2 separate regions of the Homo sapiens genome follow, and region 1 is linked to region 2. The links are contacts of gene promoters, found by promoter capture Hi-C in human tissues and cell types (Jung and others, 2019). All regions are on one chromosome and are shown on one strand. Each heading gives the region's core, a stretch centred on a gene start or on the middle of the fragment in contact. The rest is flanking DNA. Distances are from core to core; before and after follow the strand shown.

The links. Contacts are between HindIII fragments. The study calls those that stand out against the background at their distance.
Region 1: a fragment that was not itself captured here is called in contact with the fragment with the promoter of FAM124A in region 2 in 2 of the 25 tissues and cell types used here (adrenal gland and hippocampus).

What each region holds. Positions count from the first base shown.
Region 1 is chr13:51,308,144-51,314,913 of GRCh38, reverse strand. No RefSeq gene overlaps it. Among named protein-coding and RNA genes, the nearest start is that of SERPINE3, 28 kb to the left of the region's middle. The HindIII fragment of the contact is 3,900 bases long and covers 3,297-6,770 here.
Region 2 is chr13:51,219,004-51,225,344 of GRCh38, reverse strand. FAM124A (family with sequence similarity 124 member A) reads right to left here and starts at 2,947. Exons shown (of 4, transcript NM_001242312.2): 1 at 2,776-2,947. The coding sequence starts at 2,843. RefSeq lists silencers at 2,999-3,058, 3,179-3,228 and an enhancer at 3,009-3,799. The HindIII fragment of the contact is 11,319 bases long and covers 1-5,653 here.

The sequences.
Region 1 (6,770 bases), core at 3,997-6,496, 87 kb before region 2:
ACACATGGACTTGGTGAAAGTGAATAGTACTGTTTTTTTTTTTTCAGATATTGATTTTATTTTACTAGATGGGCAGTTCAGCAATATTTTTTGTGTGTTATTAAGCATTTTTGCTCATTTTCTCGCATACTGAAGATTTTTTTTCTTCCAACTTTTTTTTTTTTTTTTTTGAGACGGAGTCTCGCTCTGTCGCCCAGGCTGGAGTGCAGTGGCGTGATCTCGGCTCACTGCAAGCTCTGCCTCCTGGGTTCACGCCATTCTCCTGCCTCAGCCTCCCAAGTAGCTGGGACTACAGGCGCCCACTACCACACCTGGCTAATTTTTTGTATTTTTAGTAGAGACGGGGTTTCATCGTCTTAACCAGGATGGTCTCGATCTCCTGACCTCGTGATCCACCCACCTCGTCCTCCCAAAGTGCTGGGATTACAGGCGTGAGCCACCACGCCCGGCCTCTTCCAACTTTTATTTTAGGTTCAAGGGGTACATATGCAGGCTTGTTACATGGGCAAATTGCGAATCACTGGGGTTTGGTGTACAAATGATTTTGTCACCCAGGTAGTGAGCATAGCACCCGATGAAGAGTTTTTCCGTCCTCACCCTCCTCCCAGCTCCACCCTCAAGGAAGTCCCGGTGTCTGTTGTTCCACTCCTTGTGTCCACGTGTATTCACATATTGAAGATTTTTTAATAGCTTTGGAGGTTATTGTTTTTATAATATTTTATTTCCAATTTACTTTCAGCCAATTGTATCTCTTTTACTTGCTGGTCATTGTTTTCATAAATTCTTAAAATTTTCTAATCACTTACTCAGGTTTTTGTATCATCTGCAAAATGCTTGATTTCATATAAAACCAATTTTGTCTAAAAATTATTTGAAATTGTTAATTCATTTTTGACTAATGGGATAACAACTGTCCCAGTTTGCCTGGGACTGAGGGGATTTCCCAGGACATGGAGCTTTCAGTGCTCAAACTGGAGAATTCTGAGCAAATTGAGATTGTGGCCACCCTAGGTGGCATTGCCAGCTTGGCAGAGATGGCCACTGTCCTCCACACATCATGACACATTCTTGCCCAGCCACTCTTGCATCTTAAGTTTGGCTGTGTGGCTGGTTCCTGTCAATGGCTGTAATGTGAGCAGCAAAGCAGAAGCAGGCTCTTCTCTCCCTTCTCCTTCTATACAACATGGACGTTGACACCCAAGGCAATCTTGCAAATGTCAGGTATTGAAGATGGCAGAGCCTCTGTGGATCTGGGTTTCTGAGTGACTGCATGTGGCCCAGGACCTCACCATCTGCCCCACCAACACCACCATGGGGCTTCACAAAATCAAGAAACAAGCTTCTGCCGGGTGAAAGCAGTGAGATGTCAGCAGATGTTCTAGCAGTTGGTGCTATCATTATTACTATATCTACCCAACATTTTAAGCCATATTTTTACTCTTTTGATTTTATATTCTTTTTATAATTAAAAAGGCTAGGGAGTTCCAAATAAATGTTGTTGCAAACATTGCTTTAAACATTCCATGATATTCTACAGCCACAATTTGATCCAACTTTTGCTGTCAGATTTGACGCTACAGTGGAAAGACAGACTCCACCACATAGATTCAGGCTCAGTGTGGACTTTGGCAGAGAATTCTCAGAACTAGAGTGGTGGACAGTCAATAAGGAAAGAATGCCTGGCAGATTTCTCATCTGAGAGGGGCTAGGGTGAAGGAAGGATATAAGATCACTAAAGGTAATAGTTTTCCTTCCATGCAACCTACAAAATAACGTATTTATTAGCCCTTCCCCTAAGCTCAGGAAAACTGTATGTAAACTGCCTCTTGACTTCAAATCTAGAATTTCTCTAGAAAGCTAAGTCAGGCTGACAGCTCTGTAAATACCCAGGGCATCCACAGTCACTTTGTCAACCAGAATTTCACCTGTATTTTTAAAATCCTAAGGATAAGAATACTCCCATTGGCCAGGCACAGTGGCTCATGCCTGTAATCCCAGTACTTTAGGAGGCTGAGGTGGGCAGATCACTTGAGGTCAGGAGTTCCAGACGAGCTTGGCCAATATGGTGAAACCCCCTCTCTACTAAAATTACAAAAATTAGCCAGGCGTGGTGGTGCACTCCTGTAGTCCCAGCTACTTGGGTAGGCTGAGGCACGAGAATTGCTTGAACCCAGGAGGCGGAGGTTGCAGTGAGCCAAGATTGCACCACTTGCACTCCAGCCTGGGTGACAGAGCAAGAGTCTATCTCAAAAAAAAAAAAAAAAAAAAAAAAAAAAGCTCTCATTTATGAATTGAATGAGACAATGTATTTTCAAATGCCCAGCAATACCTGACAGAGTAGATGCTCCATAAATATTATTATTTTCTGTCTTTCTTTGCAAAAAATGATAGCATTAATTTTTTTCCCTTTTACTCACATAATTCAGCAGTTCTAAGGTGGTGTATCAGTTTGACTCCTTGGAGACGCATATGCTAAGATGAAGTTAGACGTGCAAGAGATTCACTGGGGGAAGTATCTGGGATGAACAAAGGAAAGAAGGGGCAGGAGGTGGCGCAGAGAGCCATCAGACTATAATACTGGCCTGACACCTGGGAGAGGAGAAAGGGAAGGAGAAAAGATTGGGTAGGGAGAGCTTGAGAGTTTGCAGCTGTGAGAAAGTCTTGGGTAACAATGGGGAGCTCCAGAGCAAAGACTGCTTGTTAGAGGATCCTGCATTGGGCAGGAATGTTCTGGCTCTAAAATCCCACTGTGCCCAGTCATTGTCTGGGAGCAGCCCAGGGAGAGCATGGCCTTGTGTGAGCTGCTTTGTATCCCGAAGGGGCAGCAGCTGACAGCCAGCTATACTGCCTGCAACAAGTTCTCTCTGCAAGGGAGAGTTGAACCATGCGTTCCTGTAGTTGCCAGGAATATAAGGGAAACTTTTTTTCTCCAAATGCACAGAAGAACAACACTAACCTCTACTATTATTTTTTATTTTTTTGAGACAGAGTACCACTCTGTCGCCCAGGCTGGAGTGCAGTGGTGCAATCTCAGCTCACTGCAACCTCCACCTCCCTGGTTCAAGCAATTCTCCTGTCTCAGCCTCCCGAGTAGCTGGGATTACAGGCACATGCCACCATGCCCGGCTAATTTTTGTATTTTTAGTAGAGATGGGGTTTCACCATATTGATCGGGCTGGTCTCAAACTCCCGACCTCAGGTGATCCACCCACCTCAGCCTCCCAAAGTGCTGGGATTACAGGCATGAGCCACTGCACCTGGCCGACTTCTACTATTATTGTCTGTTGAGGTTTTCATACAGATTTCAGCTTATAGCTAAAAACCAAACTTTCAATAAGTGAACAAAAAAAGCCCCGCTAGGACAGATTGGGTTTTGTGACATAGCCAGCAGGTGGAAAAGCCTCCCATGTAATGAAAACCAAAGCAGCACGGCAGCTGTGCAGCCTTGAGAATTCAGGAGCTGTGTGGCATATGCTGGGTTAATTTCAAGCCCTCCAAATGAGATTGCAAAGTGTGTCACTCAGCAGAGGTTCCATCACTGAGTGAATAAAGTCTTATAATTAATTCTCCACTTTTAAGATGTAAAATGAGAAGTTCACTGAGGCCTTGAGCATGTTGGGAGAATGACAGCACTTGAGGATTAGCAAGCAGACTGAGGCTTAGGAAGATTTTTGGGGAAAACCTATTTTTGTTTTCCATGCCCTGAAGAGACAATGGTTTAAAGGGGAGTTAATGGGGGATTTAGAGAAAGGGCTTTGTTTCCAGAGTTTTCATTGGCTCAGGTTACTGGGCTGATCTGGATGTCAGTGTCTTTAGTATAAAAAACCCTGTATAATATAAAAATCACCCTGCTCTGTTAGTTCTAATCTTTATGTGGGAGACTGACAAGTTCACATTTTAAATTGATAGTGAATACATGGTATGGGTCCAAGTTTTGTGGGGCCTGAAGTTTAAATAATTTGGGGTGTACTTTATAGAAAAAAGAATAGAAAATATTAAAACAAATTAGATAGGAAAATAAATACTTAGAATAAGAAAAGAAATCACAACAAATTACAGATTGGAAATATCTAACAAGTAGCATAATATACAAAATCCAGAAAAACATGATATTTTAATAAGCTAAGTACCTGACAAACTTCCCTAATACTTTTAGCTTCAATTTTTTGACTGCATACTTGTTATCCATTTTAAATTTTAATTTTATTTTCTTTCTTTTCTTTTTTCTTTTTTTGAGATGGAGTCTTGCTCTGTCCCCCAGGCTGGAGTGTGATGGCATAATCTCAACTCACTGCAACCTCCACCTCCTGGGTTCAAGCGATTCTCCTGCCTCAGCCTCCCTGAGTAGCTGGGACTACAGGTGTGCACCACCACGCCTGGCTAATTTTTTTTGTATTTTTGGTAGAGATGGGTTTTCGCTATTGGTCTCAAACTCCTGACCTCCAGTGATCCACCCTCCTCAACCTCCCAAAGTGCTGGGATTACAGGTGTGAGCCACCGGACCCAGCGTTATCCATTTTTTTTATAACGATAATTTTGTAATATCATTTTCTGTAGAGAGATTAGAAAGATAATTCAGACTTTCCTCTAGCATGGTTGACCAAAAGAAATTTTAATTGACAGTCAGGATGTATAAAATATGTGACTTCATCTACTGAAGTACAAACTATTTGTATTATTAGCTATAGATTTATGTGTTACAGACAAAGGAATTCTAATGAATTATCTTCCATGTAATTCCCATAGGAAAAAAAATGCATGGTATGTTTATATTTGTATATATTTTATTACTGAGTATATTCCTAATGAGAAAACTTCTAGTTTGACTCAGCATCTGTGGAGAGCTGTCTAAAATAAAATTAGATCAAGTTAGAAAAAATTTTAAAGTTTATTGTCATACAAAAAGTATAGATCTTGATCCGGGAGACTTCAAACCAAGTAGTAAGAAGTTTGCCTTGGCTGGGCGCGGTGGCTCATGCCTGTAATTCTGGCACTTTGGGAGGCCAAGATGGGCGGATCACCTGAGGTCAGGAGTTCGAGAACAGCCTAGCCAATATGGTGAAACCCTGTCTCTACTAAATATACAAAAATTAGCCAGGCATGGTGGCACATGCCTGTAATCTCAGCTACTCAGGAGGCTGAGGCAGGAGAATCTCTTGAACCCAAGAGGCAGAGGTTGCAGTGAGCCGAGATTGCACCACTATACTCCAGCCTGGGCAATAGAGCAAGACTCTGTCTCAGAAAAAAAAGAAGCTTGCCTTACAACATTTACAATATAGTTTGTAAAGCATAGGGAGGATGTATTTTGACCTTTTTTTGTGATTTGCTGTTATACATTACCTTTATTTAGGGCAAAGAGAGCTGTTTAAACTGATTTGTCTGTAGCTGATTAGTTTCATTTCACTGAAACATATTGACAAGGATGTAAAATTTACATGTTGTGTTTACGATTAGAATTAGCGTTTCAAGGAAATTGGAATGACATGTTTTGGTTGCATGGTTATGGGCCACTGGACTTGGGGTATATCTCAACTGTGGGCTTTTATTTTTAACAGAACTGAATCTGCTCACAGTTTTACATGTGTTAGGATTGGAAGGATTTTCCCCAGACAAGCTTCTGATCTTAGACATTTCGAACCTTGTTTCTCTTCCACCACCCAAGTGTTTGCAATGCCCAGTAATGGTGCCAGAGGACACTCCCTGAGGCCAGTGTGACTCCCCTGCGCTGCATCTTCACAGGGGAAGCTGAGTGCACGGCCTGACGGGCTCTCCTGGAAGCCATTCTTAGCACTGTGACCCCAACCACGATTTAACTATGCATGGAAAAGACTACAGAAGGCTGCAGAAGTGTGTCTCCTAGACCCAAATTAAGAGAAGCCTCAGCTTAACTCCCCCTTAGTGGGATCACTAAAAGGCTTGCAGACTCACCGCTTTCCAATTAGGGGAAGTGAATGAAGGGAAATTAAAAGAGATATGAGTGTTAACAACTCATGGTTAAAATATCTTACTTTTGCAAATTTACCAAAGTATCTGACCACAAGAAAAAGTCTGTGCATGTGAGAGATCTTTCTCAGTAAATCCACCTCTAGTGAAGAACCACGGGAAATTGCTCCACGTAAGTGGGAGATGTCTGTATTTTGAAATGAGACTAAGGTCTGCAACACTGATGGGCAGGCTGTTCCCTCTTCATTCAAAATGTTCCTGAAAACTTGCTAAAAGGTTGACTGTGAGAAAATGAAAGAGCAGACTTAGGAGATCCATGGGCAGAGGAGGTGCTCTGATTTTAGAGGGCTCAAAATAGCAAAATCCCAAATAGTTATTCTCTTTTAGGCACAATTTTTAATATATTTTTAGAAAAGGTATTCATAAGGTTGCAAAACTTGAAAGGCACAAAATAACGTACATTGAAAAGACTCTGTGTCAAAGCTCTGTCCCCAACACCTAGCTCTATTACCCCAAGAGTACTGGTTTCTTGTGTTTCAGTTCTTTTCATGAAAACAACTATGGATATACATGATCATATTCATATTTACATTTAAATTTTTTACTATATATGCATGTGTGTTATGGCATTTTTTCCCTTAAAAATGCAAGAAATTGTTTCTCTTCATAAAAAATCTTTCTTATTCTTTTTAATAGCTGCATATAGCTAGTACCCTATTAATGGACATTTCATCCGTATGTGATGTTTCTTAGTATAAATAATGCTTAAATGCATGCATCATTTCTCCTACGTACAAGTATGCTTATAGAATAAATTCCTTGAATTG
Region 2 (6,341 bases), core at 1,698-4,197:
TAGTCTCTCCCAGAGCTTCCATTGCCATTTTTAGGTAAATAGTACCCAAATGCAATGTCATCATGAAGACCTCCCTTCTGAGTTCCAGACAGATATACCCAACTGCTGATTCATCATCTTTACTTGGATGTCTTGCAACACCTCAGACACAGTGTGTTGAAAATGAAATGTCTCATATCTTGCCCAAACTTGGTTTGGAATAGATCACCAGCTACTTTGAGAATCTGATAAAAAAAAAAAGTTCTCTTCTCATACAAATTCACAAAGCACATCATTTTGCATACAACTTGAAGGAATTCATGGACCCCAAATTAAGGATCACTGCCTTAGCAGATGTGTCACTTGAGCTGAGTCCTGAAAGAAGAGTAGAGTTTCACCTGGCAGACAGGCAAGTCAGGTGGGAAGGGCAGAGCTGGCAAAGAGGGCAGCTTGACAAAGGCGAGGAAACAGAAAAATACAAGGCGCAAAGAAGGACCTGCTGAGAAACAAGGCCAGGGAGGGAAGAAGGGACTCCATAACAGGAGTCAGGGCATATAGGCCACGTTAAATTCCTTGCATTTGTAGATAACAGAGCCATAAAAGTTTGAAAGGGAGAGACATGATCAGATTTGCATTTTAAAAATACTAACGATAGCAAACACTTGTTGTCTTCTATGTGCTTTCTACATAATCTCTGTGAAAGCTGGATAGGGTAAGGGGTGGGGGCAAGCTCTGGAAAAGCAGGGAAACGATGAACAGCTTTTTGATAACTGAAATTCAAGGGCTCTGTGAATATATGGCAAACACAAAACTAATTAGCATACATTGAAATGCATGCTATTTTACCTTTAGCTTAAGGATACTAGTGATACAGTAAGAATTCCTTTTTTTTTGGAGATGGAGTTTTGCTCTTGTTGCCCATGCTGGAGTGCAATGGCGTGATCTCAGCTCATGGCAACCTCCGCCTCCCGGGTTCAAGCGATTCTCCTGCCTCAGCCTCCCGAGTAGCTGGGATTACAGGCATGCGCCACCACACCTGGCTAATTCTGTATATTTTTTAGTAGGGATGAGGTTTCTCCATGTTGGCCAGGCTGGTCTCAAACTCCCGACCTCAGGTGATCCGCCCACCTCGGCCACCCAAAGTGCTGGGATTATAGGCGCGAGCTACCGCACCTGGCCAAGAATTCTTTAAACAATTCTGTCCTGTTACAACTACACATTTTAGTGACAGAGGCTGAGAACAGAAGCTCTGGTGTCAGCAGGAGTGGGGAGCCCCTCCCAGGAGGCCTGGCCGCTGTCATGCTGATGTCCAGATCCTGGGGCGATGTCACCCCCTGGGTCCAGGACTTCCTCTCCCTTCTCTAAGACAGAGCCCTTGAAAAAAATATCAGTTTTAGGTGAGTTCTGCAAATTGAAAATGAATAGACTAGTGAATGCTTTATTTAACGCAGTTACAAATAAGCTGGTTAATTTTGCTTTGTTTCTTCTATTCATGGTCCAGCTAACTAATGGCAGAAAAAAAAAGCCAATAATCTTGTTAAAGTTGATAAATGCCACTTACACAAAGAGTGGGAAGAAGAAAGGAAGTTTGGCATTTAGCATCAGGTTACTCCACCAGATTATAATTGGGTGCTGTAGAGAGCTATGAATAAGTTTGGATAACAGAGAAAGCCCATTGCTGGGTGAATGCCCTAGGGAGTAAAGTCCCGCATTTGGGCTAGGAGTGGTGGGGCAGGAGGGGCCCTGTGGGGAGCTTTGCCGGGGTTGGGTTAGAACTCTGGGTCGATCGTGGGCCTGGATTCTCTACCTGCCCTCACAGGGTTGCCAAATCCTGAGATTAGTCTAAAACCTCTCCGACCTTCCAGGAATGAGGCTTTCTGTAGTCTAGGCAGCTCCCGCCCTCCCCCAGGATTACTCCAGATAGGAAAAAACACCCTTTCCTCCTGGGTCAGTACCCGCGGCCTGGATGTGGTGCTGACTCTGCACAGGAAAGTCCTTTAGAGACAGAGGCTGCCTGGAAGCCTTTATAACGACATTCATCTCCTAAAAGGCATTTTGTCTTTTCTTCCGCTCAGGAAAACAGTGTTTGGAGACTAACTAATTAGTCTCCAAAGGTTTGAGCCCATTGTTTGAGTCCGCTGAAGCGAAGAGAATATTAAAAAAAAAAAAAGGCAGGGCTAGATCCTAATCCCAACACCATCTCCATCCCGCCGGTACAACAGGCCAAAGGGTCCAGCTGGGACAGGTGCACTTAGAGGTGAGGAAGTTCGGCGGGACTGGAGGAGTCGGGGAGGGGGACTCGGCAGCACAGATTAAAGTCCCACGATGAAGCCATATAACGAGAAATGCCATCCTCCTAGCCGACTTCGGAAAGACTTTTAGGTGCGGGTGTCCCACCCTGCTTTTCTTCCTCTCCCGATCTCCAGGGCCGGACTCCAGGGGGCTCCGGAGCTACAGGAGGAAAGTCCCCGAGGAAGGAGGAAACAAGTGCAAGAGCATCTCCTGTCTCTAGCGATGCAGACAAGGGGTCTTTGCATCCGCCTGGCGCTCTGCATCGCCTCACAGGATGGGTGGGCTTGCACTGAACCTTGAGTCCTTCCACTTTCCTCCCCCCGGGTGGTGCCCGCCCTGCCCAGGGCAGCGCGGCCCGCCCAGGAGAGAGCGGGGGATCCGGCAGGAGGAGAAGCCCCGCGCCCCGGTCCCGTCGCACGGATCAGGAGGGTCCCCGTCCGGGGAGGAGCCGCCGCGCAACTCGGAGAGCGCCCCCCGCCCGCGGCCCGGCCCGGCGCGGCTCACCCTCCGGTCTCGGCGCCCGAGTCCACGCAGTCGTCCTCCTCGCCGCCGCCGCCCGCCTTTGGGTCCATGGTGCACGTCCCGGCCGCGCTCGGCTTGCGGGCGCCGTCGTGACCCGGGGCGCCCTCCCTCCCGGCCGCCCAGTCCGAGCCGGCCGGGCTCCCTCCGAGCGTCTGGCGGCCCGGGAGCCGGCAAACAACTCAAGCGCCAGCCGCGAACCCCGCGCCGCGCCCTCTCCCGACCGCGCCCGGCTGGGCACCCGCGCCTGCGCCCGCGCCCGCCCCGCCCCTCGCCGTCCGGCGGGACCCGCGTGTGCGCGCGGCGGTGCGCGGGGAGTGCGCGTGCGAGCGCGTGTGCGAGCGCGTGGGGGGCGTGTGAGCGTGAGTGGCCGAGGTGTGTGGTCTCACACCCGTGCGTCTGTGCATGCGGTGTGATGTGGGTGCGGTGTGCACTCCTGGTTGCACGCGACTGTGGCTGTGCTGAGCGCGTGTGCCCGTCTGTGGTGCGTGACCGCGTGTGTGTTGTGGGGGCGGGGTAAGTGTGCACACGAGAGCCGCCTCTCTCCCCCAGGCCCACAGTCCGGGAATCCCGAGCCCCAGGGCTTGCCACGAGGTTCCCCACCTCCTGATCTGGGAGGAGCACTGAGAAAACCAACCTCAGCGCATCGTGAAAGCTGGGAAGGATTTGTTTCCCTTTTGGGACCAATTCGAACACCTGGGTGTTTTCTTATAGTTTCTGAAGAATTGCTGACGCCAAATTCATTATCACCTTTCTCAGTACACGTCTGAGCGGCATCCCACCCCCTCAACTTGCCAGTTTACAATAGGTGTCATGCATTCTTTTGCTACTTAAAAAAAAAAAAGCCTTTAAAAATAATTTAAAGAGCATTGAATGAACCTGCAATTCACGGGTTGTTGCAGCAAGGGGATAACCTTAGGGTGAGTTAATGATCGCTATTGGAGGGGCTCACCTCCTATTAGGAGGGTGAAGAGGGAGGCAAGTTGGCAGGGCGGGCGGAAGGAGACTTCGAACAACTTGAATTTAGTTCTGACAGCCCTATCCAAACCATTGGGAGGAATTGTCCTTACTGAGCCTAAAATTTCTTGCACCCCAAACAGCAATGGACATATTGGTGGGCATTAGCTGAAAGAAAGGAGCGTGCCAGTTCTTCAAGGGAGATTCCCCTGCCCATTTTTTATCTTGCAGCCAGGAGGGAACCTGCCTTTATTTACTCTGTGTGGGAACAATTCAAACTGTGCCTCATTTGATCCTCAGGGAAGTGCTGTGAAACAGGCTTACTTTTCTATTTTACCGTCAAGGAAACTAAACCCTACCGAGTTCGAGTGCCTGGTCCCAGGACACCCTATCAGTGAGCAGGGAAGCCAGGTAGTCCACTTAAGGTAGCTGGAGCCTGTGCCACTTACCTAGAAGGCTGATGAGTGGGCCAGTTGTATCCTCAGGAAGATGGTACTAAGGAAAAGGCCAGGGAAGAAAGGGTGAAATCAGCATGACTTTTAGAAGATGGGCTTTGGAAAATGAGATGCTATTTAAATGATTTCTGCCTTTCTCAAATATCCAGAGAAAGGGCATGCCAGACCAAAACCTCAAGCCACATCTCAAAATGATGCATGGATTCAGGTTCCCCTCGCCCACAGGGGACACAGTGTTATCATTCATCATTGGCATAGCAGTCTAATGGCAACTCAGTGATGCATTTATTATATGGAAGAGAAGCTTGAACGGTATCACTGTATTCTAGTGATGCATGGCTTTCTGCTTCAGTTCCCAGGTTTTAAAAGCCTCACTTCATTTTTTGCTTGTTTGTTTGAGACAGGGTCTTACTCTGTTGCCCAGGCTAGAGTACAGTGGCACAATCACAGCTCACTACAGCCTCCACCTCCCTGATTCAAGTGATCCTCCCAGCCTCCTGAGTAGCTGGGACTACAGGCGTGCCACCATGCCCAGCTGAGTTTTAATTTTTTTGTAGAGAAAAATATGTTGCCTAGGCTGGTCTCGAACTCCTGGCCTCAAGTGATCCTCCTGCCTCGGCCTCTCAAAGTGCTGGGACTATAGGCATGAGGCATTGCACCTGGCCCATTTTTTGGGAGGGCGGGGTATAAGAGTTGCTGGCAGGTAACCAGCACAAGAACCTTCAAGTGATCACTGCAGGGTATCTAGCCCCTAAACTTACATGGTTCCCACACTCCATAGTCCAGCTGTTTAATGTCAGTCTCTTTAATCATGGGGGTACGATGCTCTCCTCCACCCCTTTAAGATGGGGACAGAAAAGTGTCACTGGTCTGCTTAGGGTGTCTTGACTGCTGCCCTAAAGATATTCCTATCAGAGCCTGAGAACAGTGTTGGGGGAATACTGAGGTATGGCAGGAAGTGTAACAGGCTAGGAAACATGAAACCTGACTTCTGGATCGGAATCCATCATGTACTAGTTCTTTAAACTCTCGATAGAGAAAAAGGATAGACCATCAACTGTTTCCAAAGTTCTTACTACATGTCAGTCTTTGTGGTAAGGATTTTACATACATGATTTATTTAAATCTCACAAAATTCTTGTGAGGCTTCCTTTGTCCTTAAAATGGGGTTGTTGATATAAATCTCACAGGAGATTCAAAGCCCCTTAGAAACTACGAAGCATATGAATAAAAGATATTGCTGATTTTTTAATCACTTTTTCTCAGAAAGGTCTGAACATCAATCTTTTGTTGTATTTCACCTATAAAGCATGTTTCAGTCTCTGTTTATATTATTGCATGTGTTGGTGTGTTAGAAAACAAGGCAGTTCATTCATTTATTTATTGAACACTCAGTGTGTACTAGGCAGGGGCTGGTGCTGGGGATATGTTGAGGAATAGGCCAGAGCTATTTTCTGGCCTAATGGAGCTTTTTGGGTCAAGAGAAGGCAAGGCCAATGGGCATGGCTGGCCTTCCCACCAGGCACCTGAGAGGTATGTAGTGCCATCAGCCATTAGAATAGGACTGGAATGCCAAAGCCCTGTCTTGGAGGAAAAAACTTAAGATAATCGGATGGTAAATAGAGTCCATCAACTTTGCTGATGAAAGAGATGGATTAGTAATTAAGAAGGCCAAGAGTAATTGGGAGGGGGCCAAAAAAAGAGGAGCTAAGTAGCTTTAAGATAAGAACTTTACAGCAAGAGACTGAAAACAGATAAAAATAAATATCTCCAGAACATAGAATTTGCCCAGATTTGGATTTCAGTTTAGAGGGAAGCTAGGCCACTTTCATTGCATCTGTACCATTTGCTATTAGGCGAGCTTGATTTAGTCCCTTAAGTAAAATATTTGTTAGGGTTATCCAGTAGCAAATAGAACCAGAAAATATATTGGTCTGGAAACTTTTGCTCATTCATTTTAATTAATTAATTACTTTTTGAAAACACATTTCCCAGAAACAAAAATTACAGGTTAAAGAATGACATTAAAATTAAAAAAAAAGAAATCTCTTTCTTCCAAGACTCCAGAAGAGTCTGTCTAATGTGAAAAATAAATATTATGATCATGAGAAGAAAATTTATAAACTATTGACAAATCTA